Linked DNA regions of Homo sapiens: region 1 is linked to region 2. The links are contacts of gene promoters, found by promoter capture Hi-C in blood cells and fetal thymus (Javierre and others, 2016). All regions are on one chromosome and are shown on one strand. Each heading gives the region's core, a stretch centred on a gene start or on the middle of the fragment in contact. The rest is flanking DNA. Distances are from core to core; before and after follow the strand shown. Region 1 holds the start of NAA20 (N-alpha-acetyltransferase 20, NatB catalytic subunit). Region 2 holds the start of LINC01431 (long intergenic non-protein coding RNA 1431).

Region 1 (4,097 bases), core at 239-2,738, 3.3 Mb after region 2:
CTTGCCATGCCTTGGTTTACTCATACACAAAATGGGGGTGACAGCACCTCAAAGAATCGTGAGGATTAACTGGATTATTACGTGGGCACTCAGAACAATGCAGGGAACAGTGAGTTCAACACAAGTCACCGTAGCTACCAGACTGGCCCAACAGAAAATTCTTTCCACAGGATCAAGTCTAAACCCCTCCTGTTTCACCCATTTCTTCCTGACTGCTCAGTGGCAGAAACCAGCCACTAGATTCGCACTGATCCCAGTTGTCTGACCGCACTTCAAGTTTCCCCATTTTCATGCCCCGCTCCTTCTCCGGAACTTCCGTCTTCCTCACTTACCAATGTGTTATCCATCTTCAAGGCTCACCCCCTCTTTGAAATGTTCCCAGCCATCTTATCCCATAGTTCTTTCCATCTTCCTGACACTTGAATCGGAACCACTTTGTCCTTAGTTTTCACATACCGCCCTGTTGTTTTTTTAAAGTGGATCCAGGACTGATAGATGGGAAGGAAGGAGAGATACCAGCGTAGCAAAATGTTAACTGCAGAATCCAGGAAAAGTGTCTATAAAAGCACATGGTGAAATTCCTCCAACTTTTCTAAATGTGTGGGAATCTTCATAATAAAATGTTTTCTTAAAAAAAAAAAATTGGTACCTGCAAATCAGAGGTCTGGCCTTAACTCGAATCCAAAGAAACTGCATCCAGGGCTCTGGGCACAGCGAGCCTCCCCTAAGATCTGCCGTGACTCCTCACAGAGGAAAGGTGTGTACACCGGGGTGCGCAGCTACAGTAACTAAACTTGCAAACACTAACCATGACTGAGACAGCATCTGCTGCAGGGGACGCAGTGATCAGTGTCATTTCATTTGGATACAATTTAACCACGGCCACCAGGTGGGCTTCACGATGTACACATCCCAACAGCTGCTGACCAGCTTCCGATCCTCGCAAGCCCCCTCTGCGGCCTGGCCGTCGGCGGTGCCCTCTGCCCAGAAGAGGCGCGGCCCGGCCACGAACCAGCAAGCAGTAGGGCAGGGCGAGAAGCCCAGGTCGTGGGCTCCAGGCCGCGTCTCCAGCTCGCCCCATCACCCCAGCGCCTCCTGACAGCGACCACGAGCGGAGGCCCGAGCGCTGCCCCAGAACCTGCCAGCTCGCAGGGTCCAGAGACAAAGTTTGAGCACCTCGGCCAAGGTCGCCAAGGCCGGCGTGCGTCGACTCCAGGCCCACCTCTCCCTGGACCCTGTGGCCCCAGGGAGGCGCCCACGTTGGCCGGCGGGGGGTGGTTCTCGCGGGTCCCCGTCCGGGCTTGGGGTCCGGCCGGGAAGGCGCGGCTGGGGCCGGAGCTGGCGGGGCCGGGAAGCGAGGCCCGGCCAAGAGCGGCTGGCCCTAGGCGCGTGTCACTCACATGTTGTTGAAGCGGAACAGGTCGTCGCAGGTAAAGGCCCGTAGCGTGGTCATCGCGCCGCCGCCGCTTCCGAAGACCGTTCGCCAAGACCCCGCGCCCGCCCTGCCGGAAGTCTCCCGGAGCGTGGCCGCCGCGGAACCGAGCGAGACGGGGTACTGCTTCCGGGCTACGAGTTGCTGGGCAACGACAGCAGCAAAGCAGCTTCCTCTGGCGGCCGGCGGCGGGAATTGCCAGGTCGCTCCTGTAAGGCCTCCGGGGCTGTGGCTGCCCAGAACCTCGGAACCCCTCCCAGGCAGCGGCTGCAGAAAGCAGGCGGCGACACCTGGGAAGGAAAGAAGCTGCTGGTGATGCGGAAACCCAAGCAGAAGAGCGGAGTTCGCAGCCACCCGGTGCTGCAGAGTAAATGAGGAATGGGAGAATTTATGACCCAGAATCCCTTGTCCCAGTGTTGCGAGTTGCAGATGTCATCTTAAAATGTCAATACCACGTTTAAAAACAAAAAGAAGGCCGGGCGCGGTGGCTCACGCCTGTAATCCCAACACTGGGAGGCCAAGGCGGGCAGATCACTTGAGTTCAGCAGTTCGAGACCAACCTGGCCAACATGGCGAAACCCCCTCTCTACTAAAAAAAAAAAAAAAAGGAAAGAAATAAAAATTAGCTGGGCGTGGTGGCACGCGCCTCTAATCCCAGCTACTTGGAGGCTGAGGCAGGAGAATCGCTTGAACCCAGGAGGCGGAGGTTGCAGTGAGCCGAGATCTCGCCACTGCACTCCAGCCTGGGCGACAGAGCTAGACTTGGTCTCAAAAATAAATAATAAATAAATAAAAGCAAAACGAAATGTAAAATTGATTTTGATAGTACGCTTTATTTTACCCATTTATTTTTCCTATTTGGGAAAAATATTTTTCCCTGACCCCACTTTATTATACCCGAAATATCATTTCAACATGTAACCAATCAATACTCAACATGTAATCAATCAATAAAAAAAGGAATGTGATATGTTACATTCTTTTTTGCAAAGACTTTGAAATCCGGTGTGTATTTTACATTTGCAGTGCATTTCAATCTGAGAGAGCAGCTGTCATCGGAAATGCTTGTTCTCTATTTAGATTTCATCAATGTATGGTTAAAAAGCAGATTCTCATATCCAAGCGGTTCCAAATATACTGTTTTCAAATCGCTGAACCAAACATCAGTTTTTAAATTTAAAGTAGTTAAAATTAAAAGTTAAAAATTCCTTTATTCAGACCAGACACAGTGGCTCACACCTGTAATCCCAGCTACTTGGGAGGCTGAGGTGGGAGGATCATTTGAGCCCGGGAGGTAGAGGTTGCTCTGAGACATGATTGCACCACTGCACTCCAGCCTGGGTGACACACCAAGACCCTGTCTCAAAAAGATAAGATAAAGAGAGATAAAATACATAAAGCAAGCAGGAATGCTGAAATGTATTTACACATGAGTGTTAAACTGGTCAATATCCACAGAGCTGTAATCACTGTCTCTCCTGGGCACTGTATAACACTATGCATTTGTATTTTATGGACAAGAAAAATTTTCATTACTATCAATTTTCCTCAGCTTACAAATTTGTAAAATTTTGTATTGTCAAAGACAATAAAAAGCAGAGAAAACCTGGAAACGTGTACTAAACAGTAATCTTTTTCTGGCCATTTCAAAGTGTTTCATAATTTTTTGTGTGTGACATGAACTAATGTTGATTTGAATTTTGTTCCTTATGAAGTAGTGAAGGTTTTTATAATATTTTTGGCTCTGATTCATTGGTATTATAAACATTAGAAGTTTATAGCTACTTTATGTTTGTATCTAGGTAATGGTGGAATAAACATGATTTTGATTTTTAGAAAAAAACACTGTGGGTTTAACACAAAGGTAGCATTGGAACCCTGCAGAAACTGGATGCTGTAGGCCAGCAGTTTGCAAGCACCGATACGAATTATTATTCCGATTTTGAGGCACAGATCAGAAATATCCTATAGCTACGTGGCCATTCCAACACATGGGGTCAGGGGAACGTGCAGGGCAGTACAGAGAATATCCTGGATATTCACCAGCTGGTTCTCCCTTCTCTCCTGTTTGTCTACTTATTTTTAAACTGTTATCAGTTTCCATTGCTGATTGCCTCCTATGAATTAGCATCTCGAAGGGTGGCCAGTAAGTGCCTAGCAAATATTGATTAAATAGCTGAGTGAAAAAGTGGCACACAGGTTACCCAGAAGATAATGTCATCCTTGGTAGTTTACAAAGAGGGTATTCACATTCTCAACAAAGGTATTTCACCTCTCTTTGCCTCAGTTTCTGTAAAAGGTGCATAATCATAGCACCTACTTCATTGGATTATTATGAAGATTACATGAGTTAATATTTGTAAAGCAGTTATAACAGTGCTTGCCACATTTTAAGTGCCATATAAGTGTTTGTTAAGAAAAATAATGAAATTAAGTATCTTGCATTTTGAAGGATCAGAATCTGGAGATGTAGAGTTAGGAGAGGCACAGCCCTCAATCATAGACCTTAGCACAAATGGCTCTGGAGGGGTGATGTTTGCTCATAGTCCCCGATGAGCAGCTTAGAGGAGATGGGTGGGGCTTTGGAAGCCGCCTCCCTTTCCTCTTATTGTCTTGCTTCAACCAGAAAAGTCTACATGTTGACACACTTGTTTTATGGGTTTTA
Region 2 (4,008 bases), core at 527-3,026:
GGAAAACTCTGTCTCAAAAAAACAAAACCAAATTAGCCGGGAGTGGTGACAGGCACTTGTAATCCCAGATGCTCAGGAGGCTGAGGCAGGAGAATCACTTGAACCCAGGAGATGGAGGTTGCAGTGAGCTTCGATCATGCCATTGCACTCCAGCCTGGGCAATAGAATGAGACTCCGTCTCCGATTATGTTAGCTAGCATAACATAATGCTAGCTTATCCATTCAATACTGAAAGGATTGCTTTAGTTGAGTGTCTTAATAGCTTTAAAAATAGAGGTCATAAGACTCACAGACTCTTTGTGGCAATACTAAATGATAAAGAATGAAGGGCCATGCCTGGCAAGGGTTGTCATGCACCTCTACACTTCAAGAAGAAACTATGCCTTAACTGCCACAAGGTTTTTATTCTCTGGCAGCCAAACAAGCACTGGCCTCTAGATAAGCAATATTCAAACAATGTGCTTTTCATCCACCTCCACATGCTGACTGACACGCCCCCTGCCCCAGCCCCACCACTTCCACAAATAATTACTGCTTTGATTGGACCAGAGACTGACTGCAGTAACTTTTTCCTGATGGGAAACAACCGAACAGGGGCTGATTCTGGCGGTTTACAGAGGCTGCACACAAGTGCATCGGTGTCCTGAAAAGATCTTTCAACTTATAGGGTCTAAATGTAATACATGAATACCTGTAAATGCTAAGAGTCCACCCCAAAGTAAACATAGGTCACCTGTAACATGCACGTTTGTCCAGTAAGCATGGGTCAGGACCCGTTTCATGAATATTCATAGCTCTTCCTGTGGCCTGTTCATATGTGTACTTGGCTAAGTCCTTCAGCTTAAATTCCTGTCTTAGGCCCCCTTCCCTCCAGCTGCCTGCCTTTTGAGCTTCTGCCAGAAGCTATGCTTCCCAGCCTGTCAGAAGGGCCACCTTGCAGGTTATCACCGTTTAAAGAAATAAAGCTCTCCTTTCTATGTTTGTGATCTTTTTTTTAAATAATACAAATAGACAATTCACTTGACAGTGTGAATGGCATACTTCACTGACAATGGAATACTATAAAAACAATAATAAACCACTGATAAACATCAACCTGACAAAGTTAAATATAGTGTTTCATGCTGTAGAACTCTGCACGAGAAAAGTACACGGGAGTGAACAATTGTTACGTAAGGGCGTTCACTGCAGTGCACTTACATTAGTGAAACTTTGGAAACAATCTCACCTATAAGGAGATGGCCGAAGAATTTGATATATCCAAGCACTGGATTATTATGCCGGTCATTAAAACAATGTTTAAAAATATGTGTAATAGCTTGGGGAAATGCTCACCATGTTATAATGAGTAAAGACGGTACACTATTTTACATAGGGTCTGATGTGATTTGAAAACAAATCTATAGAAATAGACTGGAAAGAAATGTATCAAATTCTAAACTGCACAAGGAAGAACACTGACGCACGCGCAACGCCGGCGCCCTGCCCACTAGGCGCCCTCGCTGCCCCTCACCTGCACAGCCGGCGCACGCCCACAGGCTCGTGAGGGAGCGGCCGGTGGGTCAGGCTGGGCGGCACTCCTCGCCCATTGGCTGTCCCGGAGTCCGGCCCCGCCTCTCCCCGCCTTCTGGAGCCGCTGGTATAGCTCCTTCCAGGGCTCCTTGGAGACGGAGGGCGGGGCTAGGGCGCCGGAGTCACGTGGTCGCGCCACCGCGCGATTACTAGCTGTCAAAAGAGTCCTCAGAAGTGTCCTGAGCGGTCGCAGGGTAATGACGTCGGCCGTATCGGGGATGCTGGAACCTGCGGTTGAGTGAGAAACCGGCGCCACCGCCTGCGTCTTGGTCTCGGGCTGGTGGCCAGCGGGGTCTGGGCGTGGTTTTACCCAGCTCCTTTGCGAAGCTGCTGTCCTTTCCTCAACGTTACCACCCGGCTGGGCAGCCTACCCTCGGTCAGTACGTCCTGGCAAGAGCGCTTCGGGCGTGGCGTTCGTGTCGCGGGGGCCTCGGCTCAGAAGCGAGGGAAGAGCAGCCCTCAGAGGAGCGGCGACCGCGCTTACCGGGAGCCCGGGTTGGGAGAGGGCTCCCCAGGAGGGGTGTGAGCTCCGAACGAGAAAGAACGCCACCGCCTCGTGGGGTCTCTTCCTAATGTGCAGATTCCAAATCTCTACAATGCTGCAAAAGAGGTTACAGTCCACATCAAATTAAGCATGCCCTAAAGGGCAGCTGGGGTTCAGTTCAAGAGTTGAGTTTTAACACACACCTTTACCTGCCTTAAAATTGGGCAAGGTATCACAACGTTAAACCATTTCTCACAAGGCTCGTTGGTGATGTTTAAGATTTTTTGTTTGTTTGTTTGTTTTTTGTTACGGAGTCTCGCTCTGTCGCCCAGACTGGAATGCAGTGGCGCGATCTTGGCTGACTACAACCTCCGCCTCCTGGGTTCAAGCGATTGTCCTGCCTCAGCTTCCTGAGTAGCTGGGATTACAGGCGCCTGCCACCACGCCCAGCTAATTTTTCTATTTTTAGTAGAAACGGGGTTTCGCCTTGTTGGCCAGGCTGGTCTTAAGTTTTGCATCCTGGCTCCCTCCTCTTACCTAGTCCCAGCCTCTTGTCTACAGGACAAAGCAACTTTCTGCAGTTTTCTGTTTGCTCTTTAGAGAGACGGGGCCCTAATTTGGCAAAGTGGTAGGGGAGACAGGGCTGGTGTTTAAGGTCGACCAAAGCAACATCTAAATCTCTGCTCTTCCCCCAAATTGTCCAAATTAGCAGCAACAGGTGTGCACCTTCCAAGCTTGCAACAGACCACATTCAGAAGCTTGATTTCTTGTTGTTCTGGGAATATCTGGATCAGAGGTAACATGGTTCACTAGGACTCCTCAGCTTCACCCAGTGTCCATTTCACCTCCCCCGGCCTTCCAATGTCTCTTCTTGCAGATTTCTCCAAGCCACTCTCCCCGTCATCTCCTCCACCCCCAGGACCCAACTCCTGCCCCTCCCACCCTAGCCCCTGTTCTCCCTGCCCACCTCCTACCCCACTGGAGTGGCCTTTCATCAAACCTAAACCAAAGAAACCAACAGACCTTGCTGTCACCACTACTCCGGGACCTGGAAGTTAAAGCGAGGGAGAGACGGTGAAACACAGAAAGCAGAACGCCTTCTGTTCTTCCACAACACAGGGTTTGTGGACGTGGCCACTATAAGAACTCGCACTGCGTGCTGATTATACTCCTCAGCACAATTCATTTCTTAAACTTTTTAGAATAATTTAAAATTTACAAAAAGTTGCAAAAATAAAAACCAGTAAACTTTTCACCTTCATCTGCCTTATAATTAAGGCAGCGGGCAGCGCGCTGGACAGAACGGGAGGGGCTTGCGCTTTCCGCCGGTGGGAAACCCCACCCGCAGGGACGAGCCGGGACCATCTGGCCCTACCTGCCGAACGGCCGCTTGGTGGAGATGTGTCCCAGAACCGAAGGAGGAGGGTGCCACGCACATTTGTCTTGCCTTCCCCGGTGGCGGGGGCATGGCAAGGGCGGAGCTTCCCGCTGTGCCCTTGGAGGCCGCCTGCAACCAGGCTAGTGTAGGTGGGGACGCACGCCCTGTACCCTACCCATCCTGCCCATTGCGGGTCTGGCCCGGACCTGAAGGGCAGTAGTTGGGGCCGTCCCCGCGTCTTCTGGGCCCTGTAGTGAATACAGTCTGCCCCATTCAAATCCTTTTCCTCACTTAGGATTACTGCTGTGTGTCAGTGTCACACACCCCAAATTGATAATGGCTTAAGATGGGATTTCTCATTTAAAAAGAAGTCTTTGGTTGAGTGAGCTGGGGCTATTTTGGTGTTTCCACATGGGACCTAGGCTCCTTTTAGCTCAGCACTATCCTACGTCTAGGGTATGGCTGAGCTGTTCTCTTGGCCAAGACTGAGCCAGAGCCCGTGGTCAGGTCAGCATAACCTTTCCAGGCAGCAGGATAGAGTGGGAAAGAAAGAAGGGTCTGTTGAAGGAAAATT

Evidence for each region. Contacts are between HindIII fragments. The CHiCAGO score rates a contact against its expected background, and 5 or more counts as called.
Region 1: the fragment with the promoter of NAA20 here is called in contact with the fragment with the promoter of LINC01431 in region 2 in 2 of 17 cell types (naive CD8 T cells and total CD4 T cells); the score reaches 7.7 in naive CD8 T cells.

Annotation. Positions count from the first base shown.
Region 1 is chr20:20,014,753-20,018,849 of GRCh38, reverse strand. NAA20 (N-alpha-acetyltransferase 20, NatB catalytic subunit) reads right to left here and starts at 1,488. Exons shown (of 6, transcript NM_016100.5): 1 at 1,401-1,488. The coding sequence starts at 1,453. RefSeq lists enhancers at 1-225, 687-1,187, 1,802-1,981 and silencers at 1,242-1,361, 1,412-1,481. The HindIII fragment of the contact is 8,583 bases long and covers 1-4,097 here.
Region 2 is chr20:23,355,895-23,359,902 of GRCh38, reverse strand. LINC01431 (long intergenic non-protein coding RNA 1431) reads left to right here and starts at 1,776. Exons shown (of 3, transcript NR_109884.1): 1 at 1,776-1,948; 2 at 2,766-2,852; 3 at 2,934-3,309. RefSeq lists a silencer at 1,441-1,630 and enhancers at 1,681-2,070, 2,261-2,350. The HindIII fragment of the contact is 4,137 bases long and covers 1-2,792 here.